2 separate regions of the Homo sapiens genome follow, and region 2 is linked to region 1. The links are contacts of gene promoters, found by promoter capture Hi-C in blood cells and fetal thymus (Javierre and others, 2016). All regions are on one chromosome and are shown on one strand. The core of a region is centred on a gene start or on the middle of the fragment in contact, and the rest is flanking DNA. Distances in the headings are between cores, read along the strand shown.

Region 1 (5,381 bases), core at 1,324-3,823:
TGTTCTGTCCTTATTTCCATTTTCTATTGTTGTGTACTATTTCAAATAATTTTTGGAAAGAGGTGGAGGTATGAATAAATTCAATTTAAAAATGCTTTTGGCTGTTGATAGAACACCTATATAATTAAAAGTTGACAGCATTTTCCTGCATGCCTTTAAAAGGTCGCAGGAAATGTACTCTGCTTTGAGGAAAGGCCTAAAGTGTGTTTTCAATTATAGCAAACTAAACATTAGGAAGAGTCCTAGCAATTCAGAAAAGGTAGTGGTGTGTCTATGCAGAGTCATAATCCTGAACACCCTAGCCAAAGGTTCTGAGAGAGCAGTGGTGAAGTGTGGTGACCATTTTGTTCAGCTGTAAAGATTCTACACACTCAGAGCATTGGTCTACTTGGAAAGGATGGGCTCTAATTTATCATTAATATATTAATTTCAAGTCCAATGTCACCGACAATAGTCAAAATTATGGCAAATTGAATTTGACCTGAGTGGAAAGATAGTTATATTTCAAATTATAATGCAGGGCAACCTAACTACCAGTTTTTTAAAACCAACATTTGAGGAAGAACTGGTTTAAGGATGATGCTCCTTTTTTTTTTTTTTTTTTTTTTTTGAGATGGAGTCTCGCTCTGTCGCCAGGCTGGAGTGCAGTGGCCCGATCTCGGCTCACTGCAACCTCCGCCTCCCAGGTTCAAGCGATTCTCCTGCCTCAGTCTCCCAAGTAGCTGGGACTACAGGAGTGTGCCACTACATCCAGCTAATTTTTGTATTTTTAGTAGAGACGGGATTTCACCATGTTGGCCAGGATGGTCTCGATCTCTTGACCTCGTGATCTGCCCACTTCCGCCTCCCAAAGTGCTGGGATTACAGGGTGCTCCATTTTAAACTTGACTGCTCTCTGTTTTGGTTTTAGATTGAATTCATGCAGGTGTTTCAAACCTCGCTTTCAATAGCATTACTTGTTACTGGGAAGCTAGATCTTTTGGGGGGAGTTGGCAGGGAGGGGTTGAACGTGAGATTTCTCTATCAGTGAAAGACATCTTTTGGGAGATACAGCACTCTTTAAGCTTCACTTATAAAAGTGTGCAATATAAAGCCTTATTATTATTTTTAATAAGGCAAGTCAGAATTTAACCCCCATGGCTCTCTTTAACACCACTGAAGTTGTAAGAATTAACTCAACCTCAAAGAGGCATGAGTTATCCATGTAGGCTTATAGAGTGTCATTTTAATGTTCTATGTCTTTACTGTGCCTCCACTTTCTTTGATGAAAAGGTCTATTTAAAAATTGGTAGGAAAATATTTAACATAATAAGATGATGAGTCAGAGTTTTAAAAAAGCTAAAAAGGGAAGATGTAGTTAAATAATGCACCTTTTTATTTTCTAGCTACATGACTCATGACATATAATGTATTCTGCTAAGTTCAAAGTTTCCTCTTACAAAGAGAGTTTTATGAAACAACTCTTCTTCAGACCATTTTTATTTCAATTATAGTAGCAGGTTTTGGAGTTTAAATCATTAACAACCTCTGAGTGAACTTTTATCCAAATGACTGCAAGTCACAAAGAGAACAGTCCTCTTTCACCAAGTACCTTTTGTGCTCTAGTGAGACCCGTCCTTTTCTATTTTTCTCCTTTATGTCTCTCTTTGAAGAAAGATGTGTGATTTGTAAGGTAATGAAAGTATGTATCAGTTAATGAAAACTGCTATATTGGGCTCATAATGCACACTGGAATTGCTTCAGGGTAAACTTCATATACCTGCAGTATATAGCAGGGGAAAAAGTGAATTTCCGAAGTAAAGATTGCTGTGTGCACTCTAGGAGTATCACGTAGCAGTTAAAGCAACCATCAGGGGTGACCTAATCTTATTTTCCTCTCTTTGTCAAGTAGCTGTAATGTTCATTTAGGAGCATTTTTCAGTTTTAACTCCAGTGGACACTCCAAAACTGGGCACTTATTCTGTCAACTGTCAACCAAGTTATTGATTTCACCATATGTTGTCTTCATTTTTTTTAAATTAGTTTTTTTGGAATGTTTTTGAAGAGTGTGTGGGAGACGATAACCTCCAGATTTAAGGTGATGGGGTAGGGACAAAAGCCTGCAGAATTTCATACAGAACAAAATGTAGCTTAATAAACAAAAGAAAGTGAAGAGAGAAATTTATTTCCTTTTTAAAAGTCAGTAAAATAATGAACTAATCGTTGTTTAAAGAGTGAGAAAAACTTTTTCCCCCTAGATTTGGTGACTAGCGGGATAAATTTGAAGAACTCCATCCCACCCCCGCACGCGCGCCCCCCATTCTTTCCAGACAGAGCGGTTGTAAATCCGAGGCTGAGTCCGCCCTGGGAGCCTTGGGGCACTTTCCTCTTTGCTCTGTGTGTGTGTGTGCGTGCGTGTGTGTGTGTGTAGCTCTCGCTCTTTCCCTCAGTCTGTGCCTCTTGTGTGTGTGTGTGTGTGACAGAGAGAGAGCGAGAGAGAGAGCGCGAGAGGAGAGAGAGCGAGAAAGAGAGAGAGAGAGAGCAAGAGAGCGAGCTGTGAGCTGTGCTGCCGCCGCCGCTGCCCTTTGATCCCGACATTAGTGTTAGGGGCTCGGAGACACAGAGCGCGGCCATAGACACCGCCGCACCGGCACTCATTTATTTATACCTCCCATCACACACGCGAGCATAGGACACACACACACTCACACCTATTAGATCCGTTTCCATTGAAGAATATTACGCTCGGGGACAAGCCAGGTGCACGACCAAAAATTTAAAAAAAAAAAAAAAAGGAAAAAAGAAAGGAAAGAAAAGAAGAAAACCCCTCTTCTGGCTCCAGGAAACAAGCTTCAACCCATTGCACACACCGGAGAAGGGGTTTCCCCCTGCCCGCCCGCCCGCCCCCCAACTACCTCCCCGCTCCTGCCAGTGTCTGCCTCTCTGCCCCCACGGGGGTTTATTTGATCTCACATTAACCAAGGAGGAGAATGTGAGAAAAGGGGGAAAATGCCCAGGAGGAAGCAGGAGCAGCCCAAGCGCCTTCCCTCACGTAAGTCATCCCTTCTCCACCTCCTCTCGTGCCATTTTCTCGCCCTCCCTCTCCTCTTTCCCCTCCGCAGCCTCCTCCGTTGTTTTCTGCATTAGTTTAGGGTTACAGAGGTGAAACTGACAAAGACACAGCCCGGGTTACTCCTCGTTTAGGTCTATGCTGAGGCAGCCATGTTGGTGATGATCAGCCCCGTGCCCTTTCTATTCTCTCTCTCTTTTTCTTTCTTTCTCTCACCCCCCCCCTTTTTTTCCTTGAGATCGGGCTTTTTTTTCCCTTTCCCTCCCCTTCCCCCTCCTCACTCTGGGTTGCTGGGGGGAGGGGGCAAGAGAAGGGAGGAGGGGAGTAGTGTGGATGCCGGGGGTTTTATCGGGGGTTTGGTGGGGGGAGGTGGGAGAGGTTGGAATCTTAAAAAAAAAAAAATTCCTTGTGGATTCCGGCGCCTGAGGGTGCGGGGGTCGGGGCGCGCGGAGGGCTGGGGGCCGTGACATGGCGTTTGGGGGTGTCGGGGAGAGGGCGCGCAGCAGCCGCCGGGTACAGGATCCAGGGAGAGGTCCGTCCCTGGCTAAAGGTTGCGCCGGGGTTGGTCGGCCCCCGAGCCGCCGGCGGCAGCGGCGGCGGCGGCTGGAGCAGGAGGAGGCGGAGGTGGAGGAGGCGGCGGCGGAGGAGGGGAGTCGGGGGCGGGCGAGGCGGGAGCGGCTGGGGAGGGTGTAGGGGCACCGCACACAAACACACGGGTACACACGCGCCGCCGGGCGGCTGCTCCCGCGGCGCCGAGGCGAGGGGGCGCGCCGGGGCGCGGGGCGGCCGGGCGGGGGGCGAGGCCGGGCAGCGGCGGGCGGATGTGGGGTGCGGGAGCTGCGCCGAGGCGAAGGCAGGAGGCAGGGCGGCTCGCGGCGCGCGAGGTCCCTGCAGAGCGGAGGAGAGGGAGGAGCAGGGCTCCTGGCCGCAATAAAATGCGGGGTCAGTCGGAGCAGACGGAGCCGGGCGAGACTCGGGCTCTCAGACCCCCTCCTTGGCGAGCCTGAGCAGAGTCCAGGACTAAAGTGCATCACAGCCCTCCCCGGCGGCAGCCACACACGCCAACTGGAGACACACACCCGCCGGCACGGCCCGGTCCCCTTCCCCTCCTCCACCCGCGCCCCCGGTCCCTCTCCGCCCTCCCTCCGGCTTTTCTTTGCGCGACTCTTAACTTTTCCCCCACTCCCTCTCCAGCTCCCCCCAACCCCCCAGTCTTTCTCCGCTTTGAGTGTTTCGAGATGCTGCTAAAGCTAAAAGTGAAGGAGAAAGAAGCAACTAAAAATATCCCCCGGGGCCGCCCGGCTCCTTGAATGCAGGGAAGAGGGGGCAGGGGAGAAGGCGTGGGGCGGGGTGACGGGGAGGAGGGGACGCGGGAGGCGCCGGAGGGAGGGGTCGGGGGAGACGGAGGGTCAATTTCTCTTCTCTCCCCCCACACTACTCCCCTCTCCCGGCGGTTTGGCGCTGCTCGGAGCCCGATCCTGCAAAACCCGGGCTGGGGGCGGGAGTGGAGCCGGAGCGCCCGCCCGCCCGGGTGTCAGGCCGACGTGGTCGGTCACCTGAAGTTCACGGAGGGTGGGGGAAGGGTTAAGGTTATGGTGTCTCGGGCTCGGGCTGTGTGTGAGCTTGTGCTTTTCCGCTGCAGACAGGCAGGGCGATCGATCTCCCCCTCGCGAAATAACCGCGGCGGTGCCTGCCCAGGGGACCGGGAGGGGGGCGCGGGCTGCTCGGGCCAGGCGCCCCCGCGCCTCCGTGTCACCCGGGCCGCAGCCGAAGTGGCGAGCAAGGGCACTTGCAAGCAGTCCGCTCCGCAAACATTCCTCTTTCTTTCCCCTTCCCGGTACGCAGGAGTCGACGCAAAGGGCTTGGGTTGTGCTTTTTTCCCCTTCCTTTAAAAAAAAAAAATGCCCCTGTGCAGTCCTTTCTTCGCCTGCCCGCTAGAGGTTCTGAGGATAATATCACATATGTAATATATATGCACATAAAATCACTCGCAGGCGGCTGCGTGTGTAGGGAAATTTTGTGCGAGGAAGGAGAAGGCGGTGGAGTCGGGGAGGGCGAGTTGGGAGGCTCCGCGCTGCGATTCACAGAAAACTCGCAGCAGTTGGTGGAAGAGTGTGCGTGCACATGGCCGGACTGCCCCGCTGCCGGGCTCTTGTCGGGGGCGTGTGGGGGGAGGGAGAGGAGGCAGGAATCCTGAGGGGGTCAGGGGAGGTCTGCCGTGCTTGGACAAAATGGGCTTCAGTGTTCTCTGCGAACTTGCCCTTAGATGGCAACTTTGGGAGCTGATGAGCTTGTGTGCGAAAACAGGGCGGTGAGGTTATTTGGTCATTTT
Region 2 (5,171 bases), core at 2,541-5,040, 2.5 Mb before region 1:
TGCCAAAACTGTGTAGGTGATGGAGGCAATGGGAAGCTCGCTGTCAGGACAGTGGGAATGTGGAAGGAGAAAGGCAGTGATTGTTTTAACAGGGCACCTCGGTGTTTAACACGGGTCTATGTGGGAAGGGATTAGCAACTTTCACAGCTATTTAGGAATAAAACGGGAAAGAACCCAAAGAAGGGCGGGGGTGGAAGGGGGCAATAGAGCCTGCAGAAAAAGGAGTGTTAAGCCAGAAAAGGGGTGTGTGTGTGGTCAGTTGGTGGGGTTTAACTGAGTCAAAAGGGACCACAGCAGGGGAGCCGGTTAACTGGTAGTGACACTCACACTTCTCCCCCCTCCCAAACCCCCAATCTTCCATCTAAGGGTGTGTGTAACGGTGCGGGGGAAGAGTCTGGGGCAGAAGCGTACCTCGCACACGCGCGTGAACACGCGCGCACACACATGCACACGCATACATATCTCCTGACGTGGTGATCTCCGTGGCCGGGGTGGGGGCGTGGGACTCCGGGGAGGCTCCGCAGAGGGGCAGCGGGCGCGGGAGAATCCCGGGATCCGGGTTCACCCATCCATCCTCTGTCCCCTGCCGCGTGCCCGCGCGCCGCCGGCCGCCCGCCTGCCGGGCCCAGTCGCCCCCCTTTCACTTTCGCGTCTGCGTAGGTGTCTGCCCGAGCGGGCACGAGGGCGCGGGGGCGCGCCAGGAGACGCGGGGGCGCGCGGCGCGCCGCGAGCGGAGGAGGAGGGGTCCCGGCTCTCGGCCCCTTCCTCGGCTTGCCCCGCCGAGCCGCCTCCGCGGGCGTCTGAGCCGCCGTCAGAGCGAGGGGACCGGTCGCGACCGCAGCGCCCCAGCCAGCTCCCCGCACGCCTCCGCGCACAGACGCCCGCTCCCTCCTCGGCGCCCCCCCACGGCGGGGGTGGGGCAGAGGCGCGGCGAGCCCGAGAGGGGCGGGGAGAGGAGCAGCCTGGCGGGGTGGGCAGCCGAGGAGCAGGAAAAGAAAACTTTTCCCTCCCGCCCCCCGCGCGAGGTCCCCAGCCCTCGCCTCCCCCCGCAGGTGGGAACTGCACCTGAAGCCGGGCGCGAGGTCAGGGCCGGACTTTGGAGGGCTGCGGGCAGGGCTGAAGGGGGTGCGTGCATTTGGGCTCAGTTTTCCTTTGGCCTCCAGGTTGTCAGTGGCCGTAGTGGGAGGGCGGCTGCCGGCGCCCCTGCCCGTTTCCCACCCGCGGGTGGCCGGACGCGGTGCCGCCTCCTCCCGCTCGTGAGGGCGTGACCCGGGGAGGGGGGCGCAGGCTCCCCCTGCGACCGCCCCCTCACACACGCGCTCGGCCGCCGGAGCTGTCACCGGCCACCCAGGGCCCGGGGAGGGGGCGCGGAGAGTGGCGCTGCGGAGCGGCGGGCGCGGGATCCTCCTGCCGGACTTCCCGGCTCCCAGGGACGCCGCTGTCAACGCCGAGCGGACGCGCAGCCCCGGGAGAGGGGCCCGCCAGAGGCCCGGCCGCCGCCGCTGGGGGCGGGCGGGTGCCCGCGTCCCCCTCTGCGCGATTTGGCGCCGCTGCCTCGCCGCCTCTTGTAGGGTAACAGCACTATTGCTCTACCCACCGTCAGCAGGGCGACTGCCACTGCCGGGATTATCATCCTCTCCATCCTCACCGCCGATCAGCCAATATTGGACTTGCTGGTGGCGGCGGCAGCAGCGGCGGCGGGAGTCTAGCCGTTCCCCTTCCCCCGCCCCAGCCTCCCCACCATGTCCTAGAAAAGGTGAGTGCAGCGACAGTCACTTTGCGCTGACAGCGGCGAGAGGGGGTCCGGAGAGCGCAGGGGCGGCCCCGGGCAAGGCAGGTTGCGCGCCCAGGGCAGAGGGCGCGGGTTGGCGAGCGGAGGTGGGATGCGGGCAGGAGACGAGTTGCCCGCTGGCGGCCCTGGGGCAAGGGTGCTGGGTGGCGGGCGAGTGATCGCGGCGGCTGCCCCTGCACGGTTCTAACCTAGATTTTGCAAGAAGCTGAGATCCAGGGCAAGACCGGCCCTCCTCAAAGGAGATAAAAACTTAGTAAAAGAGACACGTCCATTCCTTTAATAATGAATAATTCGGCAACGCTTGCGGAGCCGCCGCCGCCTCGCGTGCCCAGGCTCTAGGTCCGGGACTCCCCTTGCTCCCGCCCGCCGCCCGCGCTCTGCCGACGTGAGATCGATGCCCAGTTCGCTGGGCCGGGAGAGTGCGCGTGACGGTGGGCCCCGCGGGAAAGTTGGGACGCTCGGCGGGGACTCCTGGCTGCGGGGACGCCGGGGGCAGCTCCAAGCTGGGGACCGAGGGGCATTAGAGTCTGGGGTCAGGACCAGCTCGCGGCGCTGCCGCTGTCGCCCCTATCTCCAGGGAGTTCCTGACTGGAGCGGCTGAGAGTTCAAGTCTCAGCCCTGGGTTAGGGGTCCGGAATCCCGGAGCTTAACTAACTGTTAAGGAGAGGAGGGGCCTTTGGGCACAGGGTGTCCCCCGGTCCCCCGCCTCGGGCTTTGGCGGGCGCGAAGCGAGGGTGAGGCGGGAGGCCGCACAGCTGCCGCCGCCGGGCTGCGGGTCGCCGAGGGCCGGGGGACCAGATTTAGGTGTATACGTCACTGATGCTGACTCCGGGCCAGCGGGGAGCCTAAAACGGGGCCTTACATGAGAAGCCTAAAAGTCCTTAGAAATCAAAGTTAGGAACCCCATCCTTTTGCTTAGTAACTGCAGCATTTGGGTGGGCGGGAGGAGAATCGAGGAGGGGGCGGTTGGAGGGAAACCGAAATTTCTTCATGCAGACAACCGATCCTTAGAAAACAGTTTGGTTCCTTCCCCCCTCCTGTCTGTTTCTCCCACTTATGTGACCCACCCCCTCCACCCATTATAACGTGAATATCCTCGATGGTAAGCTTGCTTTCAAATTGAACTAGTGGAAAAATCCAATACTAAAGTAGTAAGTACAGTGACAAAATTATAAGGAAGTAGAGGAGCAGCTCTTGACCCTGCCACTTCTTTCATTTATCTTTCTCTCTCTCTCTTTTTTTTTTTTTTTTTTTTTTTTTTTTTTTTGGTGTTAGGGGTCTAAGGGATGGGAGGAAAGCTGTGTTTAAAGGGTTTTTCCAGCACGGTTAAAACAACTAAATTCAAATCGAGTGAACGTGATCGTCTTGCTCGCTGGCAGCGAAGGCTGCTGCTGCTCTGCTGAGAGGTAACTCTGGAGACAGTGGAAAGGGGCTGGGAGAGGAACCTCGAGGGTCGGGTGAAGCCCACCCAGAGTCCTCCCCGCGCGCGGACGCTGTTGGGCGGCGCCAGGGTCTGGGCTGCAGCTCACCTGGAGCTGCAGGTGGAGAGCGTGAGGGGACGACACTTTGCTCGCGGAAAAACCGACTTCTTCCGCGTCAGCACACTTTTCACATCTCTCCAGATATCCTGGGGTCGGTCAGAAGGAGAGCAGGGTGGACGTAAGCAAGTTTGGGGCGGCCGAGCGATGGGGGTGGGGGCAGCGTGCGGAGGCCGCCTGATGTAGCCACCGCCCGGCACCCCAAGCTCCCGCCGCGGCTGCGGCTTTAAGGAAGCTGCCGAGTCCAGGCTGTGTCGCAGCAACTTTGTATCAGTCATGTCGCCCGCCTGGTGACTGACAGCCTGGATTGTCCAATAAGAAGCCCGCCTGACCCGTGCGGCGTGGAGCCTTGCTTCTCTTCGGGCCAATAGGAAGGGTTCAGGGGGGCGGGATAGCAACCTGAACTTTATCTGGACATGTGACCCGCTTTTAAAAGGGCCAGCCCTCCAGCTGGCCCACTCCCCCTCCGGGCTTTCGCCCGCCCTCTCTCCCTCCCTTTTTTGCCCGCCCTGGCCCTGCCCCTGCCCCTGCCCCCTCCTCTCAGCCCCTCCGCGCCCGGGGTGTCATTGGGCCCGGGAGACGGGAGCCAACTTCAGGCTGCTCAGAGGAAGCCCGTGCAGTCAGTCACCTGGGTGCAAGAGCGTTGCTGCCTCGGGCTCTCCCGCTGCAGGGAGAGCGGCACTCGCTGGCCTGGATGTGGTTGGATTTAGGGGGGCTCCGCAGCAGGGGTTTCGTGGCGGTGGCAAGCGCTGCAACAGGTAGACGGCGAGAGACGGACCCCGGCCGAGGCAGGTGTGTAGGGGCGCGCGGCGGGGCACCGCTTGCCGTGCTCGGCGTGCGGCCGCGGCGCGGGAGCGTGCACTTTGCAGGGAGAAGTGGCTGCGTAATCCGGAGGCACAGTCAGTATGGTGCTGTGTGCTTGTTGTTTTGTTTTGGTTTTCCACTTTTCTCCCCCTTTGGCCGCCAGAGGACTATTTTGGGAAAGTTTGGCCACTTTGGATAAATGCCCTCTAACTAGCAGCTTTTAACTGCCTTTGGCAGTGGGAGGTCTACCACCCTTCCCTTTACCCAAAGATGAATTTCGGATCATTTTCCCTGTACAATTTTTAAAGGACGTTTGAATAATATTTCTTTCCTTTATCAATTGCGGACGCTCCCAAATCTCAGCCGGAGGTGTAGCGCATAAGGGCAGTTGAAGGAGATATAGATCCTAATAGATCCTGTATAAAAGGGGCTCTGGAAATTCGTGCATTTCCCGTTCGCTAGCATTCGCGAAACTCTTGAGACAGGCTACGCTTCCTATGGCATCAGTTGGAATTTTAAGGGCAAGGGAGAAGGGGACGAAGCTTCTTTTGGTGGCATCCTTACTCTGCTACTGAATTTTAGGTGCGTGGCTTTGCCTACTCAATTTAAAAAGACCAGGTTTAAATAATAATGGTTTATGGCACCATCAGTTTTAATTATTTATTATGACATAGGAGTTAGGAAAACTTTTGATAGCAGACGAGCTTTTGAAACCGCCGAATTTTAAAGGCACCAAATTGCTTCCTAACATTTTGTATTGCCATTTCTCTAGGTGCTGTTATTGATGATATTTACATAGTAATGATAACAGCATTCTCCATCTGTGAAGTCCTGCTGTGAAGTTTAAATTTTATGTTTGACATCGTGGCAGCTATCATGGAAAAGCTTGAGAGGAGAAGTTTTAAAAAATAATTTAAAGTGGAGCTTTTTCCTTTAAGGGAGGCATAGTTTTGTTTGGCGATTTTTGGAAAGATCAGGTGGCTCGGTAAATTAGGTGAGTGAATAGAAATCAGGTGTGCTCAGTTCTAACTGGTTCT

The links. The method cuts DNA at HindIII sites, captures the fragments that hold promoters and counts their contacts. A CHiCAGO score of 5 or more calls a contact.
Region 2: a fragment that was not itself captured here is called in contact with the fragment with the promoter of ZNF827 in region 1 in 1 of 17 cell types (total CD8 T cells); the score reaches 5.5 in total CD8 T cells.

The regions. Positions count from the first base shown.
Region 1 is chr4:145,936,015-145,941,395 of GRCh38, reverse strand. ZNF827 (zinc finger protein 827) reads left to right here and starts at 2,573. Exons shown (of 15, transcript NM_001306215.2): 1 at 2,573-3,031. The coding sequence starts at 2,989. RefSeq lists an enhancer at 3,197-3,256 and silencers at 3,631-3,700, 3,821-4,230, 4,331-4,910. The HindIII fragment of the contact is 1,765 bases long and covers 1,067-2,831 here.
Region 2 is chr4:148,441,111-148,446,281 of GRCh38, reverse strand. It overlaps NR3C2 (nuclear receptor subfamily 3 group C member 2), which reads left to right and starts at 3,868. Exons shown (of 9, transcript NM_000901.5): 1 at 3,868-4,122. RefSeq lists silencers at 535-674, 1,435-1,484, 3,671-3,960 and an enhancer at 1,645-1,734. The HindIII fragment of the contact is 1,777 bases long and covers 2,902-4,678 here.